Linked DNA regions of Homo sapiens: region 2 is linked to region 1. The links are contacts of gene promoters, found by promoter capture Hi-C in blood cells and fetal thymus (Javierre and others, 2016). All regions are on one chromosome and are shown on one strand. The core of a region is centred on a gene start or on the middle of the fragment in contact, and the rest is flanking DNA. Distances in the headings are between cores, read along the strand shown.

What was found. Contacts are between HindIII fragments. The CHiCAGO score rates a contact against its expected background, and 5 or more counts as called.
Region 2: a fragment that was not itself captured here is called in contact with the fragment with the promoter of C15orf61 in region 1 in 1 of 17 cell types (total CD8 T cells); the score reaches 7.1 in total CD8 T cells.

The regions. Positions count from the first base shown.
Region 1 is chr15:67,519,730-67,522,685 of GRCh38, forward strand. C15orf61 (chromosome 15 open reading frame 61) reads left to right here and starts at 1,402. Exons shown (of 2, transcript NM_001143936.2): 1 at 1,402-1,865. The coding sequence starts at 1,520. It overlaps IQCH-AS1 (IQCH antisense RNA 1), which reads right to left and starts at 2,115. Exons shown (of 6, transcript NR_040052.1): 1 at 1,790-2,115. RefSeq lists enhancers at 989-1,068, 1,709-1,828 and a silencer at 1,249-1,598. The HindIII fragment of the contact is 4,154 bases long and covers 817-2,956 here.
Region 2 is chr15:68,226,191-68,229,146 of GRCh38, forward strand. The region is part of intron 1 of CLN6 (CLN6 transmembrane ER protein); the gene reads right to left. Among named protein-coding and RNA genes, the nearest start is that of CLN6, 2.1 kb to the right of the region's middle. RefSeq lists enhancers at 2,823-2,892, 2,923-2,956. The HindIII fragment of the contact is 5,228 bases long and covers 1-2,956 here.

The DNA.
Region 1 (2,956 bases), core at 152-2,651:
TGCAGTCCCAGCTACTTGGGAGGCTGAGGGTGGGAGGATCTCTTGAGCCCAGGAGGCAGAAGTTGCAGTGAGCCGAGATCGAGCAGCTGCACTCCAGCCTAGACAACAGTGAGATCCTTTCTAAAAAAAAGAAAAGAAAAAGAAATTCTATAAAGTTCAAGTTCTATAAGGTAAAGTTCAACTTCAAATTCTGTAAGGTAAAGTTCAAGATTCGGCATATGTTGGTGGGTGCTCAATGTTCAATAAAAACTGGGGAATAGGCCTGGTGCAGTGGCTCACGCCTGTAATCCCAGCACTTTGGGAGGCCGAGGCAGGTGGATCACGAGGTCATGAGTTTGAGACCAGCCTGGCCAACATGGTGAAACCCCGTCTCTATTAAAAATACAAAAATTAGCCAGGCGTGGTGGTGCACGCCTGTAATCCCAGCCACTCGGGAGGCTGAGGCAGGAAAATCACTTGAACCTGGGAGGCAGAGGTTGCAGTGAGCTGAGATTGCACCACTGCACTCCAGCCTGGGCAACAGAGTGAGACTCCGTCTCAAAAAAACAAAACAAAACAAAACAAAAAACTGGGGAATATAAAATTTCGCCATACTATCCTACATCCCCCTTGAGTTTTTAGCAACGATAGTAATTGTTATATGATGCTTAACGCGTAATTACTGTACCTCATTTACATAAGGTGGTTTCAGACACATCATCTTGTTTATGTATGGCCTCTCCAAACAAAATGAGTTTAGGACAAAAGAGGAAATCCTTTTCTAAAAGCAGTTTTGTCCGTAAGTTACTGCCTCAAGAGGCCGCAAAGTTTGAGCAAAGCTTTTCCGAAAGTAATGGATTGGTAATGGGTGACTGAGGTCCACAAAGCTCGATAAGAGGCTCCTGGTCCGTCTACCAGGTTCTTAGAGGGAGGTGCCTTTGTGTGTTCGGACGCTGCACTGAGACACGTGAGGTTTTTAAATAAACTTTTGATTTTGAAATCTCTGGGACTAATTTTAAACAGTGAACCCGACAGCGAGGACCTACACACAAAAGTGCTCCCGGCCTTACCAAACAACGCAGACCCGGGGTCACGCCTCGTCCTGTTTCAACAACAACACCCAAGGGCTTCCCTGGAGCCCAGGGCGTGGGAGGGAGACTTGGGTTTGAGTTCTGCACCTTGCGGAGGTGGTTAGTTATTTAATTGTCTTCCACCTGAATTTTCCTCAGGCCCAAATTGATGAGACCTCCCCGAATCCCTCCCCTGCCCGAGTTACTAATGACGGCGTGAGGTCACACCTGGCCACTCAAAACCAGCTCCTTGACGCAGGTGACCCTCCGCCTCGCGCAGCTCACGCTTCCCATCCCCCGGACTCCACCCCCAGCGGGAGGCCACGGGGCCGCTGTGCGCACGCGCCGCCGCACACCGGGGGCTCTCGGGCACCCGCGCGGCGCCGGTTGGCCTTCCCGGCGCTCGCCCGGGGGCGCGCTTGCGCGCCAGCGGCTGCGGACACCAGCCTGCGTCCCCGGCGCGGCGGGCCATGGAGGCCCTGAGGAGGGCCCACGAGGTCGCGCTCCGCCTGCTGCTGTGTAGGCCGTGGGCCTCGCGCGCCGCCGCCCGCCCCAAGCCCAGCGCCTCGGAGGTGCTGACGCGGCATCTGCTGCAGCGGCGCCTGCCGCACTGGACCTCCTTCTGCGTGCCCTACAGCGCCGTCCGCAACGACCAGTTCGGCCTCTCGCACTTCAACTGGCCGGTGCAGGGCGCCAACTACCACGTCCTGCGCACCGGCTGCTTCCCCTTCATCAAGTACCACTGCTCCAAGGCTCCCTGGCAGGACCTGGCCCGGCAGAACCGCTTCTTCACGGCGCTCAAGGTCGTCAACCTCGGTGAGTGGCGACTGCCGCGCCCACGCGGTGAAGCCCGCCCGGCCGGGACGGCCCCTCAGCCACCGAGCACGTGACGAACGCTCGCAGGCCGGTAGAGTCCCGCGGGAGTCAGCTCTGCCTCCCGGCGCCGGCTTCGCCTGGGGTCCTTTGTACTCCTCGCCCAGGGGGTCCCCAGCTTGCTGAGCTCCTGGCACCCGAAGCCGTTCGCCTGCTGCGGGCGCGTCCTCGGGCCTAGGGAGGGGCGGGTCGCCCTCCTGTCCTGCCCATGTTAACCAGAGTAGACCCCTGGCCTGGGCAGTAAGCCAGGGGGCGTCAGGAAACGCCCCCTAGAAAGTGGCTCTGAAGTTGACATCCGTCCTACTGCATGGCAGGACTCATTCCCGTGAACATCACTTTGCAGCTGCGTTTATGTTGCAATAACTGGAACTACTCTTTTAAGTTTCTTTTGTTTTCTTTGTATGAATTCCCGGCAAGTTCGTTTTACTAAAAGCACCAAAGGTTTTCACCAGACATAACAGCTTCCTGAGGTGCTAGGCCTAAAAGATTTTTAAAGATCTTTAATATTTGTATATTTTCATGGAGACGCCCTGAGGATGTTTACTGTCACTAGGTGTTTATTTTCTTTTGGTTTAATGACAGAAGAGGGAGGTACGAACATGGACATGGGTGTATCTTTTATAGGTCAGGGGAAAACAGAAGGCCTCAAGATGTTTTGAACTTACTAATAGCTGGCATAAAATCAATCTAGATTTCAGTGATTCAAAATCTAGCCATGGAGCTGAATGAACCATGTTACCCAGCCAGGTTTTTAAAGCCAGGATTAAAACTAAACCCTGCGCAGCCGTACTACTAATACTATTACATAATCTGATCGTCCATTAAGGTTAAAAATAGTCTGTGTATTTGTGCTTATAATAACACATATGTCAGTCGTGGGCTTTTTGAGCCGTTACTCCACTGGACTGTCCTGTAAGGAGATAATTGTTTAGCAACGTGTTATCCTTTAAAAATGCCTCTTATTATTTGGCTGATGGACTGTATAGAGCATGCCCACTACTTTGGAGGTTGGTTGAAGTTGAAGGGTGAGGTGA
Region 2 (2,956 bases), core at 307-2,806, 710 kb after region 1:
CACCTGTAATCCCAGCTACTTGGGAGGCTGAGGCAGGAGAATCGCTTGAACCCGGGAGGCGGAGATTGCAGTGAGCTGAGATCATGCCACTGCACTCCAGCCTGGGTAACAGTGTGAGACTCCATCTCAAAAAAAAAAAAAAAAAAGAGTCTGGACTTTGGAGACTGTTTGGGTTCATATCCCAGCTCTGCCACTAACCAGATCTTGAGCAAGTCACTTAACTTCTTGGGCCTTAATGTCCTCATTTGTAAAATGGAGATAATAGTAGATCCTATCCCTTTTTTTTCTTTTTTGAGACGGAGTCTCACTCTTGTTGCCCAGGCTGGAGTATAATGGCGCGATCTTGGCCCACCGCAACCTCCGCCTCCTGAGTTCAAGTAATTCTCCTGCCTCAGCCTCCCGAGTAGCTGGGACTACATGCGCATGACACCATGCCTGGCTAATTTTTGTATTTTTAGTAGAGACAGGGTTTCTCCATGTTGGTCAGGCTGGTCTTGAACTCCTGACCTCCTGATCCGCCCATCTCGGCCTCCCAAAGTGCTGGGATTACAGGCATGAGCCACCACACCTGGCCAGTAGATCGTATCTCAAGGGTCGTGGTTTAATTAATACATGCAAAAACTTAAGAGCAGGGCCTGATCCATAAAAAGTGCTAGTGTTTTTTATTGTTATAAACATATTATTTGGAAATAGGAATTTGACTCTGGAAAAAAGAGCTAAAAGAAGCTAGGGTGATTGTCTCTGGTGCTAGGGAAGAGTGGGACAGGGATTACTACTTTTTAAAACTTGAAGCCTTTGCTATTTGATTTATCACGGGCACTAATTATAATACTTTCTTTTCTTTTCTTTTTTTACTTTTTTTTTTTTTTGAGACAGTCTCACTGTCATCCAGGCTGGAGTGCAGTGGCGCCATCTCGGCTCACTACAACCTCCGCCTCCCAGGCTCAAGGGATCCTGGTGCCTCAGCCTCCTGAGTAGCTGGGATTACAGGCATGGGCCATCACACCTGGATAATTTTTGTATTTTTTAGTAGAGACGGGGATTCTCCATGTTGGCCAGGCTGGTCTCGAACTCCTGGACTCAAGTGATCCACCCACCTTGGCCTCCCAAAGTGCTGGGATTACAGGCGTGAGCCATGGCACCCGGCCTAATTGTAACACTTTCATTATAATACAAAAACTGGCAACAAAGCAGGTGGACGTTGGAATGGGTTACCTTAAGAGGTAGTGAGCAAAGCACGGATGCAGCAGAGGAAATCCAAGCATCCTAGGAACTGGACAGGATGATTCTGCCTACTCTCTTGAGCAGCAATGATACTGGGAATGGGCTGAAGCCACATTGTGGGGGGCAGAGACACCCTGGGAGACAGAGAGCTCCCACCCTCACACCACCCCCCTGGGAATACCCTGGCTGGTGGGGAGCTCACACAGGGGAAGAGGGACATGACTCCTTAGCAGCCAAAGTGGAGTCGTAAGAGCAGAGCCCGTAAGTCAGAAACCCTGGGTTTAGGCCCTGGTTCTTGCCAGCAAATGATGTAACCTCTTTGGGCCTCCATTTCCCCATCTGTACATTGGAAGTGACATCTGGCAGCTCATTGTCAAGACTGAGTAAGATGCTAGACATGGGAGCCCCACACAGGAGATAAAGTGGTGACCCTATCTGAGACCCACAGGCTGTTCCCATTGGGCTGTCACAGTTCAGGGCAGTCAGTGACCCCCAACTTGGCAAGGATTCGGAACAGAGACATCCCGCAGGCAGAAGAGGCTGCCTGGAAGAGGGGAGCTGGTAAATGGGTTGGGTCACAGCAGAGATGAAACCACTGGACACGGCGTGGGGCAGACAGCCCGGGGACTCAGCCAGTCAGGCTCCTCAGCCCATCTAAGCCTATTTCCTCATCAGTAAAATAATACTTAACTCACAGGCCGAGGGAGACAGGTGAGCTACAGTATGCGGTCTATGGCCAGTACATTGTTTCTAAGTGAAAACGGACACAGTCCGCAGCTGCTCAGCCCGCATGTCCGCAGCAGCAGAAACGAGCCATCCCTCACCTCAGCCCAAGCGCTCAGACTTCTCCCTTCATCCAGGTCGTACCAAAAACTTCCTAACAAGGACTTTGCGCATGCTAGTGCTCAGAAACTTCTCACGACTCCCCAGTGCCTATGGGATAAAGACTGTGTCCTTAACCTGTCACCTAGGACAGGAACTAGGGTGAGACAAGCAAGGCCTCCAAGGCCCAACATTTGAGGCGGCACTCACGGTCACGGCAGTGCGCCTACCCCTAAGTTTTGCAATCTAGGTCCTCAACTCGAGTCCTAGACTTGCTGCAATTAAAGGCCCTTCACAATCAGTCTGCATCCTCCTGTCACTTTCTTTTACAGCCGGAAAGCTCCAGCACCACTAAACTCCTTGCCCTTCCCCACTGTTTCCCTGGATGGAACAGCCTGTCTTCCCTGGGTCCCCTACCAAGTCCTCTGAGACTCAGCTCAAGTGCCACTTCCTCCATGAAGCCCTCCAAGATGACCGCTCACTCCCACTTGGGCTCTGTCTCTCCTGATCCCTACAGGACCGTAAGCCTCTCCCACCTTCACCCTGCCTACCCCCTTACTGCCTGGCACAGCGCTGGGCATACCACAGGCGCTTAAAGAATGCCTGCTGAATGCAGTGAATGTTTCTGGTCAGTAAAACGGGACGAAGGTAGAATGGAGCTCTGCTCGCCCAACGAGATAAACCAAAAACTGAGAAGGGCTCCTCATTCATTCTCTGGACGGCAGCTTCCGCCCTTCCCCGCTGTCTCTTCCATTACATTCGCACATTCTTGGGTGCCCCAGGTCAAGCAGACAGCCTCCTGATAAATGACAGAATCAAGTCCTACTCAGGGCTGGAGGGACCCCGAGAACGCGGAGGTGGCGCCCGGAACTTGCGGATAAGTTGGGGGTCCGAGTGACGAGGTGTGTGT